Regions from separate parts of the Homo sapiens genome. Here regions 1 and 3 are each linked to region 2. The links are contacts of gene promoters, found by promoter capture Hi-C in blood cells and fetal thymus (Javierre and others, 2016). All regions are on one chromosome and are shown on one strand. The core of a region is centred on a gene start or on the middle of the fragment in contact, and the rest is flanking DNA. Distances in the headings are between cores, read along the strand shown. Region 1 holds the start of WNT10A (Wnt family member 10A). Region 2 holds the start of ARPC2 (actin related protein 2/3 complex subunit 2). Region 3 overlaps LINC01494 (long intergenic non-protein coding RNA 1494).

The links. The method cuts DNA at HindIII sites, captures the fragments that hold promoters and counts their contacts. A CHiCAGO score of 5 or more calls a contact.
Region 1: the fragment with the promoter of WNT10A here is called in contact with the fragment with the promoter of ARPC2 in region 2 in 7 of 17 cell types (non-activated CD4 T cells, naive CD8 T cells, naive CD4 T cells and 4 more); the score reaches 8.3 in non-activated CD4 T cells.
Region 3: a fragment that was not itself captured here is called in contact with the fragment with the promoter of ARPC2 in region 2 in 2 of 17 cell types (total B cells and activated CD4 T cells); the score reaches 5.7 in total B cells.

The regions. Positions count from the first base shown.
Region 1 is chr2:218,879,465-218,882,208 of GRCh38, forward strand. It overlaps WNT10A (Wnt family member 10A), which reads left to right and starts at 1,388. Exons shown (of 4, transcript NM_025216.3): 1 at 1,388-1,644; 2 at 2,697-2,744. The coding sequence starts at 1,532. RefSeq lists silencers at 814-873, 1,094-1,303, 1,324-1,463. The HindIII fragment of the contact is 9,483 bases long and covers 1-2,744 here.
Region 2 is chr2:218,215,698-218,218,501 of GRCh38, forward strand. It overlaps ARPC2 (actin related protein 2/3 complex subunit 2), which reads left to right and starts at 1,492. Exons shown (of 11, transcript NM_152862.3): 1 at 1,492-1,557; 2 at 1,766-1,847. The coding sequence starts at 1,774. It overlaps LOC101928487 (a long non-coding RNA gene), which reads right to left and starts at 1,489. Exons shown (of 2, transcript XR_923908.2): 1 at 1,331-1,489; 2 at 404-1,154. RefSeq lists an enhancer at 1,501-2,104 and a silencer at 1,626-1,675. The HindIII fragment of the contact is 6,430 bases long and covers 277-2,804 here.
Region 3 is chr2:218,903,267-218,906,020 of GRCh38, forward strand. The region is part of intron 4 of LINC01494 (long intergenic non-protein coding RNA 1494); the gene reads right to left. Among named protein-coding and RNA genes, the nearest start is that of WNT10A, 24 kb to the left of the region's middle. The HindIII fragment of the contact is 1,258 bases long and covers 652-1,909 here.

The DNA.
Region 1 (2,744 bases), core at 138-2,637, 660 kb after region 2:
CAGAGCTGCCTTTCCCCTGCCCTCTGGCTCTCAGGCCCTTGCTTGGGCCCAGCACACTTGCACTATATCGAGGAGGGGCCCAGTGTTCAGTTGGGGTGGAGGGACAGGAAGATCTCAGCGAGAAGTAGACCTGAGCCAGGAGGCTGGTATTAGGGACCTCCTAGAGGACCATGTGCAGGTGGGGCCAGGGAGGGCCAGGACAAGACTGAGAGTATCTGCGGGCACAGGCAGGCAACACTCAGTGTTGGGGAGGCAGCTGCTGCGCTGGGAGTCAGGAGAGCTGCGTTCGGTTCTCGCTCTTCCGCTAATTTGCTGTGTGACCTCTTTGAGCCTCGATATTTTCTTGTGAAATAAAGGGGAGCTAAATAAACTATCTCAACGGCCACTTCTAGGGTTAAAAGTCTCTCTAACGCCTCCTCCCAGGACGTGCCACCCCGGGCGCTCCTACGCAAGCATTTTCTGGGGGCCTGACACTGCTGCCTCCCCGGGCTCACTGAGGAGACAAGGTGGTCCCCATGAGCCGCATTCCGCAAAGGGGCAGAGGAGGTCTCCGTGAGCAGGAGCAGGAGGCACCTGTTTAAGGTCACACAGCAAAGGGGAGAAGAAACCAGAGGCTGCCAAACTCCTCTGCAGGAGCCCACACCTGCCTCACACCAGGCAGGCCTGGGGGAAGTCCCTCCTCTGGCGGAGGAGGCGAAACACAGAGGCCAGCCCCTCCCCTCCAGCCCCTGCAGGTGTGTGTGTTGGGGTGGGATGGGGGCGCTCCCCAGCAGCTGCGTCTCTGCCAGGCACACACACCTCGCGGTAACACATATCCCCCACACAACCCAGCGCGCTCCACACACAGGCATCTTCCTGTGCACGCGCGCACAGACCCCAACACCTTTCCCTCTGTTGCCCTCAGCAGGGACGCTCCCACCCCCAGTCCCCAGCGGACGCAGTGGCCTCGGGACTCGTACACGCCTCCACGCCCCGCCGCGTGACGTCACGTGGGGTAGAGCCCTGAGACACTAAATGGCGGGGGGGTGGGGGGAGGAAAGGGAAGGCGGCAGAGCTCCCCGAGCCGGGACAGTCACTTACTCTACAGGCAGTGGGGCCCGACACAGACAGCGCCGCCCCCGCCAGCCAGCCTCGCACGCCCTCGGAAGCGCAGGCTCCCGGCGCTGCGCTGGAGGGTTCCCCGGCACCCCAGCCTCCCGTCCCCAGCCCGCTGCACCTCCGGGCCCCCCTTACCCTTGAGAGGCACCGGGAGTTGTCGCGGGGGGGCCTCGGGAAATTCCCCGGACCCCTGTGCCAGGAGGTGCCCGGTTCGCCCGCTCTTCACCCCCCGCCCCCCCCGAGGGCGGTGCCCGGGGGTGCTGCCCCATGGAGCGGGGAGGCGGGCGCCGTCTGCTCCGGGAGCCCTGACCCGAGTCGGAGCTGTGTGTCGCAGCCGCCCCGACCCCCCGCCGATCATGCGCCGGCGCCCCTGGCTCTCCAGTCCCACTGGGCTGTGAGCCCCCCACTCCCAGCCCGTCAGGGCCTGCGCGCCATGGGCAGCGCCCACCCTCGCCCCTGGCTGCGGCTCCGACCCCAGCCCCAGCCGCGGCCAGCGCTCTGGGTGCTCCTGTTCTTCCTACTGCTGCTGGCTGCTGCCATGCCCAGGTGAGCCCTCACCTCATGCTCCGCCCTCCTAGAGAGTTGGGACCCCGGCCTGCAGGGGCCTCTGATGCTCTTGCTGGGGTAGAGGACCCTGGAAGAAGGGAGGGACAGGGTCATAGGAAAGTGCTGGTGCCCAACCAAAGGCAGTGAGCTCCCTCATAGGAGGGGGTTGGACTGGTGACAGGATATGGGCAGTCCAGGGAGACAAGGCAGTGCCCAGGAGCATGATGGCAACTAGGAGGGGAGGTGTGTGTGGGGGGGGAGCAAGTGCCAGTCTGGAGTTCCTGCCCTGTTGGGGGAATGCACCCCCACCTCAGGAGTAAGCACAAGCTGCCTCACTCCTTCCTGCAGCTCAGCCCCAGGTAGGGGCAGGGGTTGGGAGGCTGGAAGGGGGTAGCCCAGGTGGGGTCAGTGAGAGACTGCAGCTGCAAGAGCTGTGTGTGTGTGTGTGTGTGTGTGTGTGTTTTCAATCGAGCCCAGGATCCCAGCAAACTGTGTTGGTAAACAGTAGTTTGTATGTGTGCCCATGTGTGCATGTGAGAGCTCATGGGTCAATGTATGTTAAGATGAACACATGTGTAAATGGGAGTGTCTTTGTGTGTGTGTCTGTAACTATGTCTGATGAAGTGTGCATGTGCGTAAGTGTGCTGGGGTTGGGTTTGTGTGTCCACCACAATGTGTGCAGAAGTGTGTCTATGTGAATGTGACTGAAACATATCTGTGGGAGTGGGCTTGTGGGGAACCCTGTGTGTATGGGCATCTATTCCTGGGGATGTGCATAGGAAATACTGTGGCCACAAGCATGGTGGATGTGTGTGCATTTGCACGCTTACCTGTGTGGGTGTGCAGCTAGCTGAGTGAGTTGCACTGGGCAGGATGATTGTGAGGAGGTCAAGGAGAGAGGAATGTGTAGGAGTGTACTGATGGGCCCAACCTTCAGAAGCAGAGGTTGGAAGAGGGAGTGATTATGGCCGTTGGGACAGAGTGTGTGTTGTTAGATGGGGCTCTCCTGGTCCCCCCAAAACACGTACCCACTCCACCCCATATGTCTGCAGGTCAGCACCCAATGACATTCTGGACCTCCGCCTCCCCCCGGAGCCCGT
Region 2 (2,804 bases), core at 242-2,741:
TCATGATGTCAGGAGTTCGAGACCAGCCTGACCAACATAGTGAAACCCCGTCTCTACTAAAAATACAAAACATTAAAAGGGCATGGTGGCAGGCACCTTTAATCCCAGCTATTTGGGAGGCTGAGGCAGGAGAATCGCTTGAACCGGGGAGGCAGAGGTTGCAGTGAGCCGAGATCATGCCATTGCACTCCAGCCTGGGCAAGAGTGCAAGACTCTGTCTCAAAAAAAAAAAAATTTAAGTTAGCGTATAATTTTAGGGGATCAGCAATATCCTGAAGCTTATCCATAGCCCGTTAAGTAATGTTTCAAAGGGCTATCTGTGCCTTAATGATAGGAGCTAGTTTCTTGTTCATTTTTTTATCCCCATCCCCAAACACATAGCAGAAAATAAATTATTTCCTTGTATGTAGAACGGACTCAGCTAAGTTTATTATATTCTCCCCGGAGGAGGGAAAACACAAAACAAGGCACAAAGGCAGAAGGTGCAGATGTAGCACAACGATGAGTTAAGATTCCGCACGCAGGTAACAAGGAGGGTATGGTATATCTCTGCCAGAGGTACTGGAAGGTTTCAAAGGCAGAAAAAAATGTGTTCCGGACACCTGGACGCAGAATTGGAGGCATGACAGGAACACAGGGAGGCCCATCTAAGTTGCCTATTCACCCAGGTGACCTCTCTTTCATTTCTTTAATTGTCCTTTTAACAATATGGGGAATTTCACCCAAGGAAAGGGTCCTCTTCTCGCCCCAGCAGGCAAGGGGTGTTCCTCCAGCGCAAGTTCCGGCCCCAGCTGCCCCCACGTCCCACAGGTCTCCTGCCTTTTGGCACGCACACTCCTGACCACTCGCTGCTTCCGCATCCCTACTCTGATCCTCTCCCCATGCATCTCTGCCTCCTTAGACAACTGAGAATTTTATTGTCTGTTTCCTTTGCCAGACTGTAAGTTCCACGAGGGCAGGGCCTCGTCCATTTCATTTACCACTACATCCCCAGTATAGAGCAAGAGCCCATGAAAATGTTTGTTGGAGAAATGAATGCATGATGGTGTCGCTGGACAGCTATACCTGGAAAGAAAAAGAGGCACCCCCATCAAACAAGCTGGGAGCTAAGAAGCCCGCTGGGAGACGACAAGGGCGAGCTTCTTGCGAGGTTTCTGAAATGACAAGACCGGAAGAATGGAGTTGGATCTCTGGGACAAGCGGGAGAGAGAAGCTGAACAGTCAGGCAAGCCTCGGGGAATGACAGCTCCGCGGGGGACGCACTGGTAGGCGGTAGACGTAAGCGGGGTCGGTGGGAAAGTAGACGGTGGGGCGGCGGCATCACACATACGCAAGCGCAGCCTCCGTTTCCTCCGGCGCGCCTGCGCTCGCGTTCACGAGTGGTTGAAGCGGAAATGGCGCCGCGGGGCCGCGCGTCCAGGCGGCGAGCGGAAGTGGGTGTGAGAGCGGAAGTGGCCGGCTAGAGCCGGGGGCTGGGCGGGGACCGGGCTTGTCGGTGAAGCGGCAGTGGCGGCGGCGGCGGCGGCTCGGCAGGCGGGTTCAGGCTTCGGGGGCCAGGTCGGTTGGGTGGGTGGGTGTCTCCACAGTCTGCGTGCGTGGGCCAGCGCGTTCGTCTTACCCTTCCCTCCACCCCGGCCCCTCTCCCCTTCTCCCCTAACCTCCTACCCCACCCAGCCCCACTCAGGGGGCAGCAGGGCCGCTCCCTCCGTCCTTGCCTCCCTTACCCACCCTCACCGGCCCTTGTTTCTCCTTCCCCTGGGGGCAGCCGCCGCCATGATCCTGCTGGAGGTGAACAACCGCATCATCGAGGAGACGCTCGCGCTCAAGTTCGAGAACGCGGCCGCCGGGTGAGCGCGCGCCCGGGGCCGGGGGTGGCGGGGGAAGCAGAGTTGACCCCAGCTAATCCCCAATGTTGTCCAGTCCCCCAGACCTGGAGGAGAGAAATGGGGTGCCTGGCAGGGTGTAGGGGCTGCCCCAGCGGGGTAGACGTGGGAGGCGATTGGGCGCGGCCGGGCGAGGGGCAGAGATGCGTGGGGAGAGGCTCAGAGGAGGGATGCGGAAGCAGCGAGTGGTGAGGGCTGTGCGTGCCAAAGGGCAGGAGACCTGTGGGACGTGGGGGACCCTGGAGCCGGAACTCGCTCCGGAGTAGCCCCCTGCCCTCTGGGGCGAGAAGGGGACCCCTTCCCTGCGTGAAATTCCCCGGCATTGTTCTGAACCCAGAGAGAGCCTGTTTGGAATTGGGTTGGAAGGAGTTTTCAGGAATTCCCAGGACTGGAGGAGGGAAGGAGATGCAGGCCCACATCGCCACCAGCATTCTCGTTCCCCACCCCCATCTCCTTTAAAAGGAGCAGAAGAGAAGACTAAAAGCCGACCCAGTCTTAGAGCCGGAAAAACGCGATCTCTGGTTTCCCTTCCCCGAACCCTTCTGTGAGAGACACTGGGCCATTTTGTTACATATTTTTAAAGCAAAGCCAATTGTCCCTCGCTCCACACCCCTTCCTTATCTCTCCTTTGAGGTTCTAATGCTCTCTCCTCACCCACTAGCCTTTATCTGGTTATCTTGTAAATTCTTACATCAAGACCCTAGGTCTGTGATTTCTTCTGTGGTAGCCCTGGCCCAGTTACACACTTCAAAGACTCCAGAATCTATAAAGTTCTTAGATAACCTGTCTTTACGATTGGACTTTTTAAAAGATGGGCTTAGGGCATCTTTCCAAGGCAGCCTCTCTGCCAAACACAAGAATCAGTAGAAGACAATCTGCTCCTCCAAAGCTGCTTTGCTTTTCTAGTATAATATTTAAAAC
Region 3 (2,754 bases), core at 31-2,530, 690 kb after region 2:
AGCTGGAATGCAGTGGTGTGATTTCAGCTTACTGCAACCTCTGCCTCCTGGGTTCAAGCAATTCTCCTGCCTTAGCCTCCTGAGTAGCTGGTATTACAGGTGTGCACCACCATGCCGGGCTAATTTTTGTATTTTAGTAGAGACAGGGTTTCGCCATGTTGGCCAGGCAGGTCTTGAATTCCTGACCTCAGGTGATCCACCCATCTTGGCCTCCCAAAGTGCTGGGATTACAGGTGTGAGCCACCACACCTGGTCTCCTGTGATCTTTCTTGAAGTTCCAGCTGCCAGCTAGACATGTTTTAATGTATGCCTGTGATACCACCCACTCAAGCTTTATTTTATTTTATTTTATTTTTGAGACAGAGTCCTGCTCTGTCACCCAGGCTGGAGTGCAATGGCGCCATCTCAGCTCACAGCAACCTCTGACTCCTCTGCCTCCCAGGTTCAAGCAATTCTCCTGCATCAGCCTCCTGAGTGGCTGGGATTACAGGTGGCCTGCCACCACGCCCAGCTCATTTTTTGTATTTTTAGTAGAGATGGGGTTTCACTATGTTGGCCAGGCTGGTCTTGAACTTCTGACCCCAAGTGATCCACCTACCTCAGCCTCCCAAAGTGCTGGGATTACAGGCGTGAGCCACCATGCCCGGCTCAAGCTTTATTAATGCAGATTCATTATCTTATGTATGTATTTGCTAAGGGCTGAGACTTTGTTTTGTTTACTGTTCTTTTCTCAATGCCTAGCACAGTGCTTGGCATAGACCAGGCATTTAATATTTGTTGAATAAGTGAATGAATGACTTTCCCCTCCAAACCAGTTCTCCTTAACTTGCTTGTTTCTCTTTGTCACATCATCATTTTCTTAGTCACTGAACCTCAAAACTGGTGTAAACTTGGACTCTCACCTTCTCTTCTCCTTTCTATATTCAATCAGTGGCCAAGATCTGCTTATTCTTCCACTTCATTCACATGGTCAATATCCTAGTTCACCACACACCTCAAACATCACAACGACCTTCCAACTAGCCTCTGTCATTCCTCTTTCTTCCTCTTCAATCCATCCCTATCCTATTGTTCTGTTTTTCTCTCCCACGAAGTGCTCTGATCATGTCATTTCCTCTGACTAAAGCTCTCAATGGATCTTTGTACCAATTTGGGTTCTTAATTGCAAACAACAGAAACAGACTCTGGTTCACTTAGTAGAAGAGGAATTTACTGGGATGACATCAGGGAACTCAAAGAATTGACAGGAAGCCTCAAGAATCAGGCTCAGGAAGCAAGCAGGAGCCAAGAGAAGCTAGGCAGCTAGAACTTTAGCTAAATCCTGTCCCAAGTGCAGCCTGATTAAGGGGCTTGGGGGCTGCTTCCCACATGGCTACCACCACCCTGAGCACTTGCTGCTGCCACCTCTGGGATGAATTATAAACAGTCCTCTTCCTCCTTGGGTCACTTGTTGAAGATTTAGAGTCCTGACTGGGAGCATTGATTTGGCTGTGATCTTCCTGCTAGGGGCCAGGTGAGCAAGTATCTGACTTCTCACTAAGACTCACATTAGGGAGGCTCCACCAACATATGAAGGGGGCTCAGATGCTGGGCAGCTAAAGACTCCAGTGTGTATCCATATGCAGGTTCCTGAGCATTGAAGCCCTCCACCATATGCCACAAACGATCATCTCCAGTTTTTTCTCACTTCCACACCATGTTCCACTGAAGCATGACTGTGTGCAGTTCCCTGAGCAGTCCTTTCCTGCCTCAGCCCCTGTAATAGCTGGGCCCCAAAGGTGGTCCGCCTTGAATCATGCTTCACACCTGTGTATTGTCCCCTCCCCTTGAAAGGGCCAGTCCATGCTTCCTTTTCACTGAGTGTGCTGTGGAAGCGAAGCTGCATGACTGCTGAAGAGAGGGAATAGGAAGCTTTGCAGTTTTTGCCTCAGTCGCTCGGAATGTTCACTCTGGGGCAAGCCAATCACCGTGTATGAGGTCTGTCTACCCAGAGACTACCATGCTATGAGGAACCCGAAACAAGCCACATGGGAAGGCTGTATAGAGAGAGTAATGCCTGGGCAGGCCCCTTCAGTTCCAGCCAATTCAGATGAGGTGCCAGACATGTGACTTTAAAAAGTCATCTTGGGGCTGGGCTCAGTGGTTCACACCTGTAATCTCAGCACTTTGGGAGGCCGAGGCAGGCGGATAACTTGAGGCCAGGAGTTCAAGACCATCCTGGCCAACATGGCGAAACCCCATCTCTACTAAAAATACAAAAAATTAGCCAGACATAGTGGCACATGCCTGTAGTCCCAGCTTCTCGGGAGGCTGAGGCATGAGAATCACTTGAACCTGGGAGGTGGAGGTTGCAGTGAGTGAGATTGCGCCACTACAGTCCAGCCTGGGTGACGAAGTGAGGCTGTGTCTTCAAAAATAAATAAATAAATAAATAAATTTTTAAAAAGTCATCTTGGATATCCAGCCGAGTTGAGCCTTCAGATGACTCCAGCCTTAGCCACCATCTAACTGAACTGCTTGAGAGACCCCACGTGAGAACTGCCCAGCTGACTGTAGTCAACCCACAGGACTGTGGGATGTAAATGGTTATTTTTAAGCCACTGAATTTTGGAGCGGTTTGTTACTCAGTAATAGAAAATGGAAACAGCCCCTCTGTGGTCCATGTTTCCCTCTCTCTGGAATGTACCCCAACTGTCCTGCCTTAGCTCCATGTCCACTCATATCTGCTCTTGTCAAAATCCTTCCAGTGAGCAT